2 separate regions of the Homo sapiens genome follow, and region 1 is linked to region 2. The links are contacts of gene promoters, found by promoter capture Hi-C in blood cells and fetal thymus (Javierre and others, 2016). All regions are on one chromosome and are shown on one strand. The core of a region is centred on a gene start or on the middle of the fragment in contact, and the rest is flanking DNA. Distances in the headings are between cores, read along the strand shown. Region 1 has its middle 3.3 kb from the start of TPK1. Region 2 holds the start of WASL (WASP like actin nucleation promoting factor).

What was found. Contacts are between HindIII fragments. The CHiCAGO score rates a contact against its expected background, and 5 or more counts as called.
Region 1: a contact is called between a fragment that was not itself captured here and the fragment with the promoter of WASL in region 2, in 1 of 17 cell types (monocytes). The highest score is 5.1, in monocytes.

Annotation. Positions count from the first base shown.
Region 1 is chr7:144,837,341-144,841,324 of GRCh38, forward strand. No RefSeq gene overlaps it. Among named protein-coding and RNA genes, the nearest start is that of TPK1, 3.3 kb to the left of the region's middle. The HindIII fragment of the contact is 5,943 bases long and covers 1-3,984 here.
Region 2 is chr7:123,746,369-123,750,747 of GRCh38, forward strand. WASL (WASP like actin nucleation promoting factor) reads right to left here and starts at 2,635. Exons shown (of 11, transcript NM_003941.4): 1 at 2,250-2,635. The coding sequence starts at 2,366. It overlaps WASL-DT (WASL divergent transcript), which reads left to right and starts at 2,827. Exons shown (of 1, transcript NR_170281.1): 1 at 2,827-4,379. RefSeq lists enhancers at 1,556-1,605, 2,365-3,019 and silencers at 2,048-2,137, 2,598-2,917. The HindIII fragment of the contact is 6,394 bases long and covers 1-4,379 here.

The sequences.
Region 1 (3,984 bases), core at 1,307-3,806, about 21 Mb after region 2:
TACTTGGCTTATGCCCTATGTAAATGAAGAGGATGAAGTAAATTTTAAAGTCATTTACTGGATATAAGCCCTGTGTAAATGGAGAGGATGTTTCCTGTCATTGCTGAAGTACTGCAATTTGATTTAGTTCCAGGAAGTCAGCATGAATCGGCCTTAACATTCCCTGCCTCCAGACCCTATTCTGCCTCAGAACTACATGTCCATTAGTAAAAGGCAAACCAGAAAAATTATGACCAAGGATATAAACAGGCAAGGCAAATTATAGAAGGTAGTCAAATGGCAAAAACACATCACCAATATTCAGAACGAAATCTTGAACAATGAATTCAATGGCAGATTGTAACCAATTTTTTAAGCAGTAATAAAAATTTACACTTACTGATCAATTATTATGTTCCAGTCAGTGTTGAGGTCTTTTATATTTTATTTAATTACCCTAAAATGTAGGCTCCAGGAAAACAAGGACCAAAATTTAGTTGTTGGCCCTTGAATCCTCACTCTAGCACAGTTTACTTGTTAATGATTTGTCTCCCCCTACTAGAGAGCTAGCTCTCTAAGGGCAGGAGCCTTGTCTATTTCCTTCCCTGCTATTTCTCCAGCCACACAGTGTGTCTCACCAAGATAAGTTCAGTAAATGTGAAATAAATTAACAAATAATGGGAAAAAAATGGAGAATTATGGTACTTCATACCAGGAATTACAGGCATACCTCCTTTTATTGTGTTTAGCTTTATTGTGCTTTACAGATACCGCTTTTACAAATTGAAAGTTTGTGGCAAGCCTGCATCAAGCAGGTCTATCTGCAACATTTTTCCGAAAGCGTGTACCTGCTTCGTGTCTCTGCGTCATATTTTGGTAATTTTCACAATACTTCAAATATTTCCATTAATATATTCATTACAATCTGTGATTAGTGATTCTTAATGTTACTCTTGTCATTGTTTTGGGGTGCCACCAGCCATGCCCTTATAAGACGGCAAACTTAATAGATCAATGTTGTGTGTTTCTTACTGCCCCGGGACCAGTACATTCTCCTGTTTCTCTCTCCCCGTGGGCCTCCCTATTCCCTAAGACACGACAGTATTGAAATTAGGCCATTTTATATTCCTACAATGGCCTCTAAGTGTTTAAGTGAAAGGAAGAACTGCATGTGTCTCACTTTAAATCAAAAGCTAGAAATGATCAAGATTAGTGAGAAAGTTTTGTCAAAAGAAAGCTAGGCTTTTTGTATCAGTTAGCCAAGTTGTGAATGCAAAGCAAAAGTTCTTTAAGAAAACTGAAAGTGCTACTCCACTAAACACATGAATGATAAGAAAGATAAACAGCCTTATTGCTATGAAGAAAGTTTGAGTGGTCCGTGTAGAAGATCCAGTTAGCCACAACATTTCCTTGAACCAAAGCCAGATCCAGAGCAAGGCCCTGATTCTGAATTATCTTAAAGTCTGGGAGAAATGAGTAAACTGCAGAAGAAAAGTTTGAAGATAGCAGAGGTTCATGTGGTTTAAGGAAAGAAGCCATCTCCGTAACATAAAAGAGCAAGGTGAAGTTGCAAGTACTGATGAAGAAGCTGTAGCAAGTTGACCAGAAAATCTAGCTAAGATCATTGATGAAGGTGGCCATTTTTCATGGAGATGAAACAACCTTCTATTGGAAGAAGATGACATCTAAGACTTTGATAGCTAGAGAGGAAAAGTCAATACTTGGCTTCAAAGTTTCAAAGGCCAGGCTGACTCACTTGTTAAGGCCTAATGTAGCTGGTGGTTGTCAGTTGGAGCCAGTGCTTGTTTACCATTTTGAAAATCCTAGGGCCCTTAAGAATTATGCTAAATCTGGCCAGGCACGGTGGCTCATGCAGATCACGAGGTCAGGAGTTCGAGACCAGCCTGACCAACATGATGAACCCTTGTCTCTACTAAAAATACAAAAATTAGCTGGGCATAGTGGCAGGTGCCTGTAATCTCAGCTACTCAGGAGGCTGAGGCAGGAGAATCGCTTCAACCTGGGAGGTGGAGGTTTCAGTGAGCTGAAATTGGGCCTGCACTCCAGCCTGGGTGACAGAGAGAGACTCCGTCTCAAAAAAAAAAAAAAAAAAAAAAAAAGAATTATTCTAAATCTACTCTGCCTGTATCTAGAAATGGAACAACGAAGCCTGAATGGCAACACATCTGTTTACAACATGGTTTACTGAATATTTTAAACCCACTATTTTACTGCTCAGAAAAAAAAAATCCTTTACAAATATTACTGTTCATTAATAGTGCACCTGGTCACCCAAAAACTCTGATGGAGATTAATGATTTCATGCCTGCTAACACATCCATTCTGCAGACCATGGATCAAGGAGTGATTTCTACTTTCAAGTCTTATCATTTAAAAAACACATTTTGTAATGCTGTGGTGCCATAGATAGTGATTCCTCTGATGGATCTGGGTACAGTACATTGGAAACCTTCTAGAAAGAATTTGCCATTCTAGATACCATTAAGAACATTCATGATTCATGGGAGGAGGTCAAAATATCCAAATTAATAGAAGTTTGGAAGAAGTTGATTCCAATCCTCATGGCTGACTTTGAGAGGCTCAAGACTTCAGTAGAGGAAATAACTGCAGATGTGGTAGAAATAGCAAGAGAACTAGAATTAGAAGTGGCGCCTGAAGATGGAACTGAATTGCTGCAATCTCATGATCTTTGCTCACGGCAACCTCTGCCTCTTAGGTTCCAGTGATTCTCATGCCTCAGCCTCCTGAGTAGCTGGGACTACAGATGTGTGCCAACATGCCTGGCTAACTTTTGTAATTTTAGTAGAGATGGGGTTTCACCATGTTGGCCAGGCTGGTCTCAAACTCCTGGCCTCAAGAAATCCACCCATGCCTCCCAAAGTGGTGAGATTACAGGTGTGAGCCACCACACCTGGCCAATATACCATATATTTTGAACACCACCAGTACAAGAAAATGAGGGTAGAGCCACAGAATATTTGGTGAGGAAGACAGAAGAGCCTTCTTTGTATCCTGGAGAAAACTATGTAACTTACTACTTGGAGTTCCTTCCTACTTTGTGGAGTCATACTGTGGACCTGTTTACCATCAGTATTAACCTTTTTGGGATCATAGAATCAATTGAAAATTTGTTTGAAGATTTGGAACCTCTCCCCTGAAAATTGTTCCATGTATGTATGTATGCATGCATGCTTATATTTATTCTGCTTTCCTTGGAAGCCCCAAATATACTAAAGGTTAACAATAATTGCTCATTAAATTTCTTTTAATATACATTTTTATAAACATCTTAAACTTCTTTAATATACTTATTGAAAAAATATGTATTAATGTAATAAAAAAAGTACATAAAATAAAAATTGATATCACTCTCACCCTACTGGCTCCTACCTACTACACCCCTTTTTCTCAGAGGTCATTTTAACAATTCAGTTTCTATGACTTTCCAAATCCATTTTCTATGAATCATCAAAAACAGAAGTGAGACTATTCTACCATTTACATTTACAAAATTTACTCTGTTGTGGACATTTTTCCACATGATGCCATATTTATCTAGCTCATTCTTTTTAATACAGCCATGACTTGGAAATACTGTGGGTTTGATTCCAGATACCACAATTAAGTAAGCTGCACAAATTTTGGGGTTTCCTAGTGCATATAAAAATTACCTTAGGGCGGCCGGGCATGGTGGCTCACACCTGAAATCCCAGCATTTTGGGAGGCTGAGGCAGGTGGATCACAAGGTCAGGAGATCGAGACCATCCTGGCTAACAAAGTGAAACTCCGTCTCTACTAAAAATACAAAAAATTAGCCGGGCACGGTGGCAAGCGCCTGTAGTCCCAGCTACTCAAGAGGCTGAGGCAGGAGAATGGCGTGAACCCGGGAGGCGGAGCTTGCAGTGAGCCGAGATTGCACCACTGCACTCCAGCCTGGGCGACAGAGCGAGATTCCGTCTCAAAAAATAAAAAAATTATTTTAGG
Region 2 (4,379 bases), core at 1,385-3,884:
AGTACTGAGTATACTTCTGCCTAACACATTTGGTCTGACCTGTAAATCTTACTGCTGGATTTATTATGAGACAATATATTTCAGTAATGTTTTAAAGGACAAAAACAACCTGAATAATCAGCCAAGGGAGGAAAAGATTATTTCAAAAATTAAAATATCACTCTTACTTCACTCTCTATTAACTAGGGACTTCAAATATTGAAATTAGTATTTGCAACGACTTCATCCCACAAAAGCAGACAACTGAAAGTGTGGTTTTTAAATGACAAATTCAAAAGGTACAGTTGATTAATAAAAGATGGCATAAAGAAATTAAGCACTGAATACTGAGAGCCTATTCAGCAATCCACTTACACTAACCAATGTGCAACATCATTTTTCTCTATCACAGTATTTTTCCCCATCTGCCATTTTTCGAAACCAGTAAAACTACAGGTAAGCACAGAACAATTAGTATACTTGTGTATAAATGTAATGTCCTTTCTGCCTAAAGTTAATGTGTCTGGTATGTAGAACACAGCACAACTACTTCCTTTTTGATACAGGTTACATAGCTAATCTACTAAACCAGCAACTGAATTTTTTTCATTGGAGGTAACTAACATTCAAAGTGCTGAAGATTTTCCTAAACTGAGCATATGCAAACATTAGTGGTGCTTTAAGAATCTTGTATTTTAATTAGTTTTTGGTGAAAAAGGCAAAGTGGTTATTTCTTTAACACCACTTTTAGAAATAAATCAGTAACAGGAAAAAAAAATACCCTTCTAAAACAACATGATGTAGTGCAAAGTACAATGGGATAGGACTAGGTGTGAGGAGTCCTGGTTTTCTAGTTCTGGTTACATTATTAAATTGCTGTATGACTTGGGCTCACTGGATCAGTTTTCTCATTTGTTGAAAAAAGTGTGTGTGAATGGGGAGGGGCTTAAAGTTGTTACCCAAAATTCTCGTTTTGAGCCACTCCTCTTGTTTCATCCTTCTAATCAGGAAACTCAATGTTCTCTAAGGTCTAAATTCCGAAATATGAAACACATCTGAAATTGAATGGAACGATTCAATCTCCAACCGGATGGCACAAGATACAAAGGGTGGACTCCTATGAAGTTAACAATGAATCCAATAACTTTCCAGAAATTGTCTAATCCTAACTTCTTAAAGAAGCAGGTGAAATCTGGTTTGGCATACCTAATATTACTTAAAGGAGTTATAAAATGGTATTGCTTTGTTGAAATTTCCGTGTTTTCTGGGTTCCAGTGGCACATACTCTGCAGGTGCTAGCAAAGTGGAGAGAAAGGGATCCAGCCAGTATTTCAACAAACCACACTTCAACCCAGTCACCGCAGTATGATCCCGACAAGGCCTACACCACAGAGCAGAACCTCCCCACCCCCAGAATTGCCAGCAGCCAATGTAATGAATGCTTCCGTCAACAACACACATTCCCCTTCCCACAGCAGAACTGCTCGCTCCCAACCGGCCATCTGGGGTTGGAATTGGCCGCACAGCACCAAACTAAGAATCATTCTCGGCCCCAAAAGCCAAGAGCTACCAGAGATTGAGGTTTCCCTGCGCATGGCTGCGGGGAGAGCAGCACCCCCTCCCACCAATGGGGGGAAAAAAAAAATCAGTGGGAAGGAGAGTAGAAACCAGGCCTAGGCAAGGTTGCTAGAGAAATAAATCTTGTTTCTCTTTAACGAAGAGCAATAACATTTCTTGCACCCTCTCTAATCCGAAGAGAGCCCAGGCTCTTGCACTCGACTTCATTCCCTCCTGGAATCCTAATGGGAGATTAAAAACCACCTTCCTTCCCCGACCTATCCACTCCTCAAACCTGGCATTGTTAAGGAACGTACCCCCAGATCAAGCAGTAAGAGGTGAAGCGAGAGCTAGAACAAGGGCCCAGATTCTAGGACCAAGCGGCTCTTGCAAGAAAATCCCCTTGTGGCCTGAGAATAAAGTTTTAACCAGCAGCAAGGGCGCGGGCCGAGGCCCGGCCAGGCTGGAGGACAGGCCTGCGGAGGTGACACTCCCTTATTCTCCAGCAGCTCGGGAAGGCGGCGCCCGACCGCCACGGCCCGCACCCTGGGAGCAGGGCGAGGGCGCCGACGAGGGGCCGGGGCCGGGGCCGGGGCTGGCGGGAGGCCTGGCCCGCGCCGCTCCCGCCTCCTTCCCCACTCCCACTTCCCGGCCCCCAAGCCCGGGCCCGTGAGGTAATGTCACGGGTGGCGACGCGGGTCTCGTCCACTGACCACACATTTCTTGCCGAGGAAAGTGAAGAGGGACTCGTTCTCCTGCGGGGTGAGCAACAGGGACCCCACGTTGGTGACCCTCCGCGGCGGCGGCGGCTGCTGCTGGACGGAGCTCATGGTTTCGCCGGCGGGGTTGGGAGTCCAGGGCCGTCTCCTCCGGCGAGTGGGCGAGAGCTCGTTCCCCCTCTCGGTGACAGGGGCGGGGAGAAGTGGAGTCAGAGGCGCCACATCTCGCAGCTCCTCCGGAGCGGGGAGGAGGACGAGGTCGAGGGAAGCAGGCGCTGACGGCGAGCCACCTTCGCGCCGCGCTGAGAAAGGGAAGCTCCCGGCACCCGCCCGGCCAGGCTAGGGCCGGATGGTCGTTGTCCTCGCACTCCGGCGACTGCGCTAAACTCCCAACTCCTCCCCCAACCCTCCCGCAGCGGCGGCGGCGGCCGCACAATCCAACATGGCAGCGGGGGCGGGCGAGACCACAGGACGGAGGGCGCGGGGGAGCGCGCCGGAAACGCGCGGCTGCGGCCCGGGAGAAACCCCCCCACTCGGCGGCGGGCCTCGCGGCGCGGGCCCGAAGCCACGCCCCCTTCCGGCCGAGGCGCGGACCGCGCGGAGCTAAGTGGAATCCCGGTTGGCTTGGGGCGCAGGCTTCCAACTTCGTACTCTGGCCTCTGGCGTCTCGGCTCGTCGGTTGGGTACCCGAACCCAGCTACTGCTGCTTGAAGAGAAGATGGATGGGGACTCCTCGCCGTCGCTGCGCCGCCGGCCTTCCCTGGGCGGACGTACACCTTTGCGAAGCGTCAGTGAGGACCCAGGGCCCCTCCTTGGAATAGCTCTTATTTCTCAAGCGCTGCAGCGTGAAGCTCGCTCTGCGGGTCCGAGAGGCCTGCGATCTGAAGACTGAAAACTGGGAAGAGACGCTCTACCCTGTGCTCCTCGCCGGCTTCGATAGGAGCCGCAGGTGCCTGGGATTTTCTCAAACTTTGTCCCAAACTTCAGCTGTGGGAGTGGAGGAACAAACAGGCCTCTCCCAGAATTGTGAAAGAGATCGCCCTGGTGGATGAAACAAAAACAAATGCACTTGACTTCCACCGCCTGCCTGGCGTGTCACGCGGGTTTAATGTATGTGTCACATTTAAATTCAAAGTATTTTCTTCTAAGGGCCTGGACACATTTCTTTTCTCCCTGTATCGTGAATTGGAAAATACCTTAGGATATTAAAAGTTATCTAAGATAACCCCCTTTCTTCTGTAAGTTAAATACTAAACGGCTTAAGACGAAATTTTGGAATATAGAGATGATGATGCAGACTGCAGTGAATTATCAAATATGCATCTCACTGTTCTCCACATTAAACATATTTTTGTTGCGTAAATTCATGTTAAGACGTCTATAACAATTACACTTTGGTAAAATTGTTGGATGTTAACATCTCTGATAGCTCCCAATAGAAATCTCTGATGTACTAACCAGACTGGTAAACCATTATCATGCACTTTGAAAATATAATAAAATATTATAATTAAAGCTGCCATTAATGAAATAGGCTGAGCAACAATAAATTTACAAAGGAAAATAAAAGTGGATAGCCTTGGGAGTTCTCACATAAAATATGGAGATTTCAAAGTTAAACTTGATTAATTATGTTAGGGTAAAAAGTGAATTAAAGCAACAGGACTATTTATAAAATAATTAGATTTAGAAAGCAGTCGTAGAAATATAAGCCTGGAGTTGCCTCTGAATTACATATTTAACAAACCTAGAAGCTAAATCAGTTTGTCTTTTATCAAAACTGCAACTCCTCTAAGTTGAAAGCACAGTGACAAGAGAAAGCATTACAAATTCTTGAGAAATAATAGAAATTAAAGCTCTTTTCAAACCTGTGAACAAGTATAGTACCAGAAGTATAAGATTCAGATAGGCCCAAGTTGTAGTTCTTGTTATGAGTCTTACAACCCTATGGACTTTGGACAAATTACTTCTCTGCGTCTGTTTCCTCATCTGTAAAATGAAAATAATTTCTGTTTCATACAGGTATAGTCTAAATAGGGATAATTACACCTACTTCAAAGTTGTAAAATACACAATTACAACTAGATAGGAGGTATAAGTTCTAGTGTTCTGTAGCACTGTAGG